2 separate regions of the Homo sapiens genome follow, and region 2 is linked to region 1. The links are contacts of gene promoters, found by promoter capture Hi-C in human tissues and cell types (Jung and others, 2019). All regions are on one chromosome and are shown on one strand. The core of a region is centred on a gene start or on the middle of the fragment in contact, and the rest is flanking DNA. Distances in the headings are between cores, read along the strand shown. Region 1 overlaps MSANTD2-AS1 (MSANTD2 antisense RNA 1). Region 2 holds the start of HEPN1 (hepatocellular carcinoma, down-regulated 1).

The links. The method cuts DNA at HindIII sites, captures the fragments that hold promoters and counts their contacts. A contact is called where the count stands out against the background at its distance.
Region 2: the fragment with the promoter of HEPN1 here is called in contact with a fragment that was not itself captured in region 1 in 4 of the 25 tissues and cell types used here (H1 embryonic stem cells, IMR-90 fibroblasts, adrenal gland and 1 more).

What each region holds. Positions count from the first base shown.
Region 1 is chr11:124,833,552-124,838,465 of GRCh38, reverse strand. It overlaps MSANTD2-AS1 (MSANTD2 antisense RNA 1), which reads right to left. Exons shown (of 5, transcript NR_103862.1): 5 at 3,979-4,914. Among named protein-coding and RNA genes, the nearest start is that of ROBO3, 29 kb to the left of the region's middle. The HindIII fragment of the contact is 4,862 bases long and covers 1,151-4,914 here.
Region 2 is chr11:124,915,827-124,920,527 of GRCh38, reverse strand. HEPN1 (hepatocellular carcinoma, down-regulated 1) reads right to left here and starts at 1,278. Exons shown (of 1, transcript NM_001037558.4): 1 at 1-1,278. The coding sequence starts at 777. The coding sequence ends at 511. HEPACAM (hepatic and glial cell adhesion molecule) reads left to right here. Exons shown (of 7, transcript NM_152722.5): 7 at 1-1,323. All of the region lies in intron 1 of LOC107984406 (a long non-coding RNA gene), which reads right to left. The HindIII fragment of the contact is 7,901 bases long and covers 1-4,701 here.

The sequences.
Region 1 (4,914 bases), core at 2,332-4,831:
AAGCTGGTGCTCAGTTGGCAAAAACCTCTGCCACCTCCCTTTGTGGCTGTTCTCTGCTCCCTCTAACACTCTGGGCTGGACTGGGTAACTAGATTGGCTTCTAGGACCCATTGCTTCTCCCCTTAGCTCCCACTCCGACAAGTCTCCCTGGTCTGTGCCCAGAGGATCACCCTAAGACTAGAGCAAGCTTGTGCAACCCACGGCCCATGGGCCGCATGCAGACCAGAACACCTTTGAATGCGGCCCAACACAAATTCATATATGTTCTTAAAACATGATGAGGTTTTTTGCAAAAAAAAAAATTTTTTAGCTAGTGTATTTTATGTGTGGCCCAAGACAATTCTTCTTCCAATGTGGCAGGGAAGCCGAAAGATTGGACACCCCTGGACTAGAGATTCACAGCTTGCATGAAAATCACCTGGAGGCCTTATTAACCCTGCCCTACAGTTTCTGATTCCTTTGATCTGGGGTACGGGCAGAGATATTGCATTTCTGAAAGTTTCCCAGGTGGTGACAGTGGTGATACTGGGGGCCACACTTTGAGAGTACTGGCCTACAAGGAAAGGAAAATAGGGGCAGGTGAAAAAAGGAAGGAGCTGAAGTCTTCAGTGCTGGAGGAGGTTACTGGAAGCTGAAGCTCTCCAGGGTACTTGGGTATCTTCACCCTCTGTGAGGGATCCATAGGCCAAATCCCCAAATAATTGTGGACATATTCCAGAATTCATATTCTAGTATTCGAGTGTGTGTGTGTGTGTGTGTGTGTGTGTGTGTTTCTGAAGACTTAGCACTCCCCCTAATGGCTTCAGATGATTCTGCACTCTCCTCAGCCTTTCAACGGGAAGCAAGAATTACTCTTATTTTCCCAGCCTAACTTGGTTATCCACTCCCATCTCTTTGTCACTGATGGAGCGGGGCATTGTCTTACACATTTGTTTACAAATTGAAGAGCATAGTTTTTTTTTACACAATAGTTTGTGTACTAATGAATGAATTAGTGCTATCTTTCCTCTTTAGGAGAACCTTGTTCTCCTAAAATCTACCTTAAGTCACATTTGAAGTGTTGTAGAACCACCTACCAGTGTTCTAAAACACTTCAAATGTGTTCATAGGGAATGAGTTCCAGATGGTTGCCTAAAAATTCTCCCCAAGGTGTCGGTGCCGTTGTCATCAGTTGGGAACTTTTGGCTGGCGGCAAGCACAACCCGAGTCAGAGGTTAAGGATGGATTTGCAAAGTGGAATTTTTAAGTGTGGTATATGGACAGATCAGATGAGAAAATCAAGTGGCATTTTATTTCTCACCACCAGGTGGCAGACCTAACCTCATTAATGAGAATCATCCCTAGACTTGAAGCCTGGCCTGAATTCTACTTTTTTCATATATGAGCCAGGGCAAAAGAGCTGTTTCTCTACTTAAATGACTCAGAAATTTGGGGTAGGGAGAACAATGCTTGAAAATATCTTTGTAGGCCGCGGTGGCTCACGCCTGTAATCCCAGCACTTTGGGAGGCCGAGGCGGGTGGATCACGAGGTCAGGAAATCGAGACCATCCTGGCTAACACGGTGAAACCCCGTCTCTACTAAAAATACAAAAAATTAGCCGGGTGTCGTGGCGGGCGCCTGTAGTCCCAGCTACTTGGCAGGCTGAGGCAGGAGAATGGCGTGAACCCGGGAGGCGGAGCTTTGCAGTGAGCCGAGATCGCGCCACTGCACTCCAGTCCGGGCAACAGAGCGAGACCCCGTCTCAAAAAAAAAAAAAAAAAAAAAGAAAATATCTTTGTAACTGCCGCCAATGTACTTGAGTAATCCCTTGAGCTTCCTGATCCGTGAGGAAGGGCTCGCTGATACTTTTTTTTCCTTCTGGAAAGAGGGAAAACATATGGATGTAACAAAATGGGTTACTTAAGAAAAATGTAAGCGATCTAACTTCTAACCAGAGGTTTCTGCCAGGGCATAAACACATGGCAGCCCTAAACAGCTTTGCAGGCACATGGCTTCCTTCACTTCCAGCCCGTCTGGCAGGCACCCTCTTAATTCCTACCAACTTAATTCCTACCACCCGAGTTCTTTGTTCTGTCGCCCATATTGAAGTTTCCTCAAACTAAAAATGAAAGCTTTATTATAATTCTGGAATCTACTCAGGGCCTTCTTAACTAAATTCTAACTTGCAGTATACGGACATGTAGTTGATCTCTCCTTTATCCCAAATGATCTTGACCCTCAGATCATAGTCAACGTATAAATTAAATTCAACCTAAATTATATAACTATAGCAAGGGTTACACACACACAGCAAGAATGCAGGACGGGCGCGGTGGCTCATGACTGTAATCTCAGCACTTTGGGAGGTCAAGGTTGGCGGATCACCTTAGATCAAGAGTTCAAGACCAGCCTGGCCAACATGGCAAAACTCCATCACTACTAAAAATATAAAACTTAGCCAGGTGTGGTGGCGTGTGCCTGTAGCCCCAGTTCTCAAGAGGCTGAGACACGAGAATCTGCTTGGGAACCTGGGAACCTTGAACCTGGAAGGCTGAGATTGTAGTGAGCCAAGACTGCACCACTGCACTCCAGCCTGGGCAACAGAGCGAGACTCTGTCTAGAAAAAATAATAATTATATATATATATATATCTTACAGGAGGGGTCAATGAATGTTTTGGGAGAAGGGCAGTGAAGATTTCTGTTCTACACACCTTTCTCATCTCAGGGCTATATTACAGCAGATTCTGACAGTATAGTAGCTTTCTTCACAATGTCAAGATCAGAGCAGATCTATACCTTACATAGAAGACAGAAAATTGACTATACCAACATCAGGTCCTCCAGCATAGGTGGGACATTACCTTTTCAGCCTGCAGGGCTTAGTACTTCTTTCAGCTGATCGGCTTCAGGCCTCTTCCTCATTTTGGAAAGGGCAAATCTCAGGTGCACACTGAAAATCTTAGACTAAGTAGCCTGGTACAGTGGCTCACGCCTGTAATCCCAGCACTTTGGGAGGCCGAGGAGGGTGGATCACGAGGTCAAGAGATCGAGAACATCCTGGCCAACATGGTGAAACCCTGTCTCTACTAAAAATACAAAAATTAGCCAGGCGTGGTGACATGCACCTGTACTCCCAGCTATTCGGGAGGCTGAGGCAGGAGAATCGCTTGAACCCAGGAGGCGGAAGCTGCAGTGAGCCAAGATCATGCCACTGCACTCCAGCCTGACGGCAGAGCCAGACTCCGTCTCACAAAAAAAAAAAAAGAAAATCTTAGACTAAGTAAAACCCTCCAGCCCAGAGTGCTTCTCTGCATTGGGCAATTCACTCTCACTGCCAGAGCTCCCTTATACACTTTAAATGCTTATAAATACACTAACAGACAGAGCCTATGGGAAACAATATAAGAGGATTGGATAGTAAGTATTTGGTTTTTTCTATGTAGTTTGTTAACAGAATCAGTCAAAATATATTTATGGAATGCCCACAGGCTACATAGCATGGTACTTCACCCTTCATTGAAAATCCATTAAAACAATTACTGGGTCATGCCTGGAAACTTTTTTCACAAAGGAATTTTCTTTAGTTGCTGGGTTGACAGGAACTAATTTGAGATGCAAAACTAACAACCCCATTTGAACTAGCAAGCCCTTATGTAAACCACTACAAGTGATATGTTTGAATTTATTCGCACCTGTGCCTGTATATATGGACTTAAAAGCTAAAGATATCGTGGTATTAATATGCATATAAGGGAAGGAGAGTTTTAAAAGTTAGTGAATCATCTTCCACTAATGCTTGGTAAATGTTTACCAAGAAGGTTGTGCCCTGGTTATAGGCCGGTAATGACCACCAATAAATAAAACTGTTTTCACCTCTATAACAGTTATGGAATGTCATTCCTTCTTGCCTTTCATACCAGGAAAACTAGGCTGAAGAAAAAAATCACTTCTTTTTAATCAAGGCAAAAACAGACTCACCCAACCAAAAACCAACCCTTGGTATTTGAAATTAGTTTATTAACATAGGGAGATTTCATATTTTTTTATTGTTTTCTCCCACCACTAACTTTAAGACTTTAACAACCTTTATTAGAATACACACACAGCTATATATATATATTTGGTTCTGTCTTCTCTAAATCATTTGTTTAACAAGGAATTTTTTTACTTAAGGCACTGGTATAGAAAATGTACCCCATTTCTTGCATATCTTGCATGTTATGGGGTCTTGTTAAGTGTTTCCAAGTTTGGTGGAATCACCACCATTTCTACCCCTGGTCCATATTTTTAGTTCCAGATCTTCTCTGCAACCACTATCCCAGTCCAAAACCCTCTACTGTATTCGCTGTCTTCTTAGTGCGGAGGAGAAAGAAAGAGCAGGGTTGGGCAGAGGGTCTTATTCTGCCTTAAAAGAAGGTTATACTTTCTGTCAAAGGATAGAACTCTGACTGACTTAACGAAAAATACAGTAGTATAAGTTTAGACCCAAGGTCAGATAGTCCTGGGGCTAAAGCTCAGATCCATCACTTAGCAATTATGTGATTTGCTGCAAGTCACCTAACTTCTCTGAGCCAAGGCTGCCCTTCTCACTTGTAAAGTGAAGCTTAAATAAGATAATACATATGAAAGGCTGGGTGTGGCAGTTGCACCTTAGTCCTTGCACTTTGGGAAGCCAAGGCCTGTGGAGCCCTTGAGCTCAGGAGTTCAAGATCAGCCTAAGCAACATGGCAGTAAGCTGTCTCTACAAAAAATACAAAAATATGCTGGCTGTGGTGGCATGTGCCTGTATTCCTAGCTACTTGGGAGGCTGAGGTCAGGAGTTCAAGACTAGCCTGAGCAACATAGTAACAACCCGTCTCTACAAAAAATACAAATATGCTGGTCATGGTAGTGCATGCCTGTAATCCCAGCTATTCAGGAGGCTGAGGTGGG
Region 2 (4,701 bases), core at 29-2,528, 84 kb before region 1:
GACCTACAAGGTGGTGAGGGAAGGGTACGAGTACATTCCTTTTCCCTCTGACCTGGGCGCTAGCAAGGGCAAAGAACCCGAGCCTGCCAGCTTGGCCTCCTCCCACAGCCTCCCTCGGAGGCATGCCATGCCAAGCACTCTTTCTGTCTCTGTTCATGAATAAAAGAGATGGATGGGCTTATTCTTATAGAGAAGTGAATTTCACTTACTCCCCTGGCCCGAAAACTAGACCAAATGAGGAACTGTTTTAGCTCATCAAACTCATATATTCCTCCTGGCTTCCTTACAAAACAAGCCTTTCAAACAATCATTGTCCTCAGGAAAGTTGTTGAGCTTCCTCCAGCTGTGAGAATAAGTCCTAATCTCCAGAGAAATGGTGGGGGGAGGAGGAGGCTTATTGCTTCCCAGCATTTGGGGGGAACATGATCCAACCCCTGGCCTCCTGCCACCCATCTGCCCTGCTCCCACATGCTCAGGTCCCAGGGCACAGAAAAAGGGCAGACTCCCTAATCACACTAACATCAAAATAAAGAGGCTGGGCCGCTGTGTAGCCAGGACATGCCCATGCCACCGCCTATTGAACAGTTCATAGGAGTGGCAGTAATCTACTGTGTGAGGAGAGAGGGCAATTAAAAAGCTGAAAGAGAAGGAGGCCCTCTGTGTATTCCATTCCCTCCTCCTTAATGCCTCCAAGGGTCCTTGCATCCCTAGTCTCCTAAACTCCAGCTCTGATTCGCCATCAACCCATGGAGCAATTCCAAGGCCCCAGTTACCCATCACCTCCACACCAGGTCAAGTTTTGTCTCAGCCCCAAAGGCACTGACATTTCTAGTTTGCCCCCTCTGCCCTGAACCCCACAGCATGCCTGTCTCAGCTCCCTGTCCCTCGGCACTTCCCCAGGCTCATTTGAGCAGGTGTGCCTTCGCAGCTCCCCTAAACTTCCCAGGTGCCTCATCCATAATGAGATAATGCATGTAGGGGAAAAGTTTCTCAAGAAGGTGGAAGAGGCAGCAGGACTTGGATAAGGAGTACCTGCTGGTCAGCCTTGAGATGCACAGGTGAAGGTTAGGGTGAGATGAGAACATGCCATACCCTGGTGCTGAATCCCTGAGGGGCCAGCTTGCCAGGCTTAAGCCAAATCTGCCTTAAATTGGGGGTGGGGAGGGGTAAGTAAGGAAGTGGGGTTTGTTTTTGTGTTGTTTTCATCTTCATCTTTGTATTACTAGCATCCAGCAGAGTGCCTAGCACATACTGGATGCTCAATAAACTTTTGATGAAATGAAATGACAACTTTATTCCACATAAACAAGGGTAACAAAACAAGCTGCTTAAATATACCAGTCATTTCTCTTCTTCTCCTTTCACCTCCTTTACCCTCTTTCCAAACCCCAAATTGTCCGTTCCAAAATCACTTACCCGTTCATTCATTTACTTATTCAGGTGTTCTTTTATTTATTCGACAAACATTTGTTTACCTACCATGGACTAGGCCCTGTGCTAGACACTGCTGATACAGCATAACTATGTCAGGAAGACAGATCAGTAAACAGATTACAATATAGTGTGTAAAATGCAATGGCAGAAGTAGATACAAGGTGCTCTGGGAGCATGTAGATTAGATGTCAGCAAAGGCATCTTGGAGGAGAACAGACCTGAGTTGAGTCTTTCTTAGAAAGACTTGTTAGTTAATCTGGTTTTTAAAAGTATGAGAGGACACACTCCAAGCAGAGGGAGAAGCATGTATAAAAGCTTGGAAGTGCAAGACACGATGGGGGGGAATTCAGGGTACTGAGCCTAGCAGTTGATGAAATTATTTCAGGAAAGTATACAAAGTAGAAGGTGAAGAAAGCTGCAGATAGATTTCTGAGGCATCAGTATGTGTAGAAAATTTAAAAGGACTTCACCAAGAAGGCTTAAAAGGCACAGCCAGCAAGATAGGAGAATATATAGGAGATAACTATATCACACAATCAAAAGAACAAGAGAGTTTCAAGAAAAAGGGAGCATTCGGGACTACAAGGGCAGGGGGCTCACATATGAAATGAAGTTAAAAGTGCATGTTAAATTTGGCAACAATGAAAACATTGAGTGACTTGGCATAAGTAGTTTCAGACATGTAGTAGGGGTTAAAGCCAGATTGCAACAGGTAAAAAGTGATATGTGGAACTTCTCTGCTAAATACTTGAGACTAGATGTTTGAGAGGTCTTCCTGTTTCAAAACAACTAGGTCTTGCTTAAATGATATTTGTTTTGCATTGCTGGCTTCAAGAGATGGGGGAATTTTTTTTTTTTTTTCAGACAGAGTCTCATTCTTGTCACCCAGGCTGGAGTGCAATGGCGCAGTCTAGGCTCACTACAACCTCTGCCTCCTGGGTTCAAGTGATTCTCCTGCCTCAGCCTCCCGAGTAGCTGGGACTACAAGCACGTGCCACCATGTCCAGCTAATTTTTGTATTTTTGGTAGAGACAGGGTTTCACTATGTTGGCCAGGCTGATCTCAAACTCCTGACCTCATGATCCGCCCACCTTGGCCTCCCAAAGTGCTGGGATTACAGGCATGAGCCACTTCCCTGCCAGAGATGGGGGAAATTTTTAAGCAGTCAGAAGTAAAACAAAATTTAAAAGCACAGTGAGCTCAAAGTACTTAGCACTCATTAAATATGAGATTACCAAGGGAGGTGAAGCAAGATGGCTGAATAGAAGCCTTCACTGATTGTCTTCCTGCAAAAACACCAGATTGAACAACTGTCCACACAAAAAAAGCACCCTCATAACAACCAAACATCCAATGAGTGATCACAATACCTGGTTTTAACTTCATATCACTGAAAGAGGCACTGAAGAAGGTAAGAAAGACAGTCTTGAATTGCTGACACCACCCCTCCCTCATCACCCGGCAGCTGCCGCATGGAACAGAGAGAGAATCTCTGCACTTGCGGGAGGGAGAGTGCAGTCATTGTGGGGCTTTGCATTGGAACGCAGTGCTGCCCTGTCACAGGGAGAAACAACACCAGGCAGAACTCAGCCAGCACCCACAGAAGGAGCATTTAGACCAGCCCTCGCCAGAGAGGAATTACACATCCCAGTGGTTGGAACCTGAATTCCAAAAAGACTCACGACCATGGGTTAAAGTGCTCTGGGGTCCTAAATAAACTTTTAAAAGTCTGTCTAGGACACAAGGACTGCAATTCTAGGGGGGATTCCTGATGCTGTGCTGGGCTTGAAGCCAGTGGACTTGAGCATATGATCTAGTGAGACACCAGCTGGTGCAGCCAAGGGAGTGCTTGCATCATCCCTCTGCCAACACCAGGCATCACAGCTTGCAGCTTTGAAAAAGACTCCTTTCTGTGGTTGGAGGAGAGGAGCAGGAAGAGTAAACAGGACTGTGTATTGCAACTTGGATATCAGCTCAGCCACAGTAGGACAGGGCATAAGACAAGCTCAGCCACAGTAGGATAGGGCATAAGACAGAGTCCTGAGTCCCCCATTTCAGGCCCTAGCTCCCAGACAACATTTCTAGACACCCTGGGCCAGAAGGGAACCCATTGGTTTGAAGGGAATGACCCAGTCCTGGCAGCATTCATCACCTGCTCTCTCTAGAGCCCAAGGGCCCTCAATAATTTGCAATAGAACCCAAGCAGTACTTGCCATTGGCCTTGGGTGAGACTAAGAGACATGTTGGCTTCAGATGTCACCAAGCACCTTTCCAGCTGTGGTGGCTATGGGAAGGGGCTCCTTCTGCTTGAGAAAAGTTGAAGGAAGGATAAAGGGGACTTTGTCTTGCAGCTTAGGTACCGGTGTGGCCTCAGTGCGGTAGAGAACCAAGTGGGCTCTTGGGGTCCCCAATTCCAGGGTTTAGCTCTTGTATGGCATTTCTGGACCTGCCCTAGTGGCCATAGTGGAGCCCACTGCCTAGAAAGGAGAGTCCTATGCTTAGCAGCATTCATAAGCTGACTCAAGAGCCCTTGATCCATGAATGAACATCAGCAGTAGCCAGGCAGTATTGACCATGGGCCTGGGGCAGTGGTGACCAAGGGAAGAGACACCTCTGCTTGAGGAAAGGAGAGGGAAGAGTGGGAAAGACATTGCCTTGGGCTTGGGTGCCAGCTCAGCTGGAGTAAAATAGAGCACCAGGTAGATTCCTAAAGTTTCTTACCCCAGGCCCTGGCTCCCAGGTGACATCTCTGGACCTGCCCAGGACTGGTGGAAACTTGGCACCCTGAAGTAATGGATACAAGCCTGGCTGGCATTGCCACCTGCTGACTCTAGAGCCTTAGGGCCTTGAGCGAACATAGCTGGTAGCCAGACAGTGGTTACCACAGGCCTTTGGTGACACCTGGTGCTGTGCTGGCTTCAGGTCTGACGCAGCACAGTCTCAGTGATGGTGGCCACAGGGATACTTGTGTCACCCTTCTTCCAGCTCCAGGCAGCTCAGCACAAACAGAGAGAGAAGGAGAGAGAGAGAGAAAGGGAGAGAGAAGAGGAGAGGAGAGGAGAGGAGAGGAGAGAGAGACTGCTTGTTTTGGAGAAAGAAAAGGAAGAGAATAAGAGTCTATGTCTGATAATCCAGAGGATTCTTCTAGATCTTATCTAAGACCATAGGGTGGTATCTCTTCAAGTCTGCAGGAGCCACAGTGTTACTGGACTTGGGGTGCCCCCTAATGCAGATACAGCTGCAGTCACCAAAAACTAAATCACAACA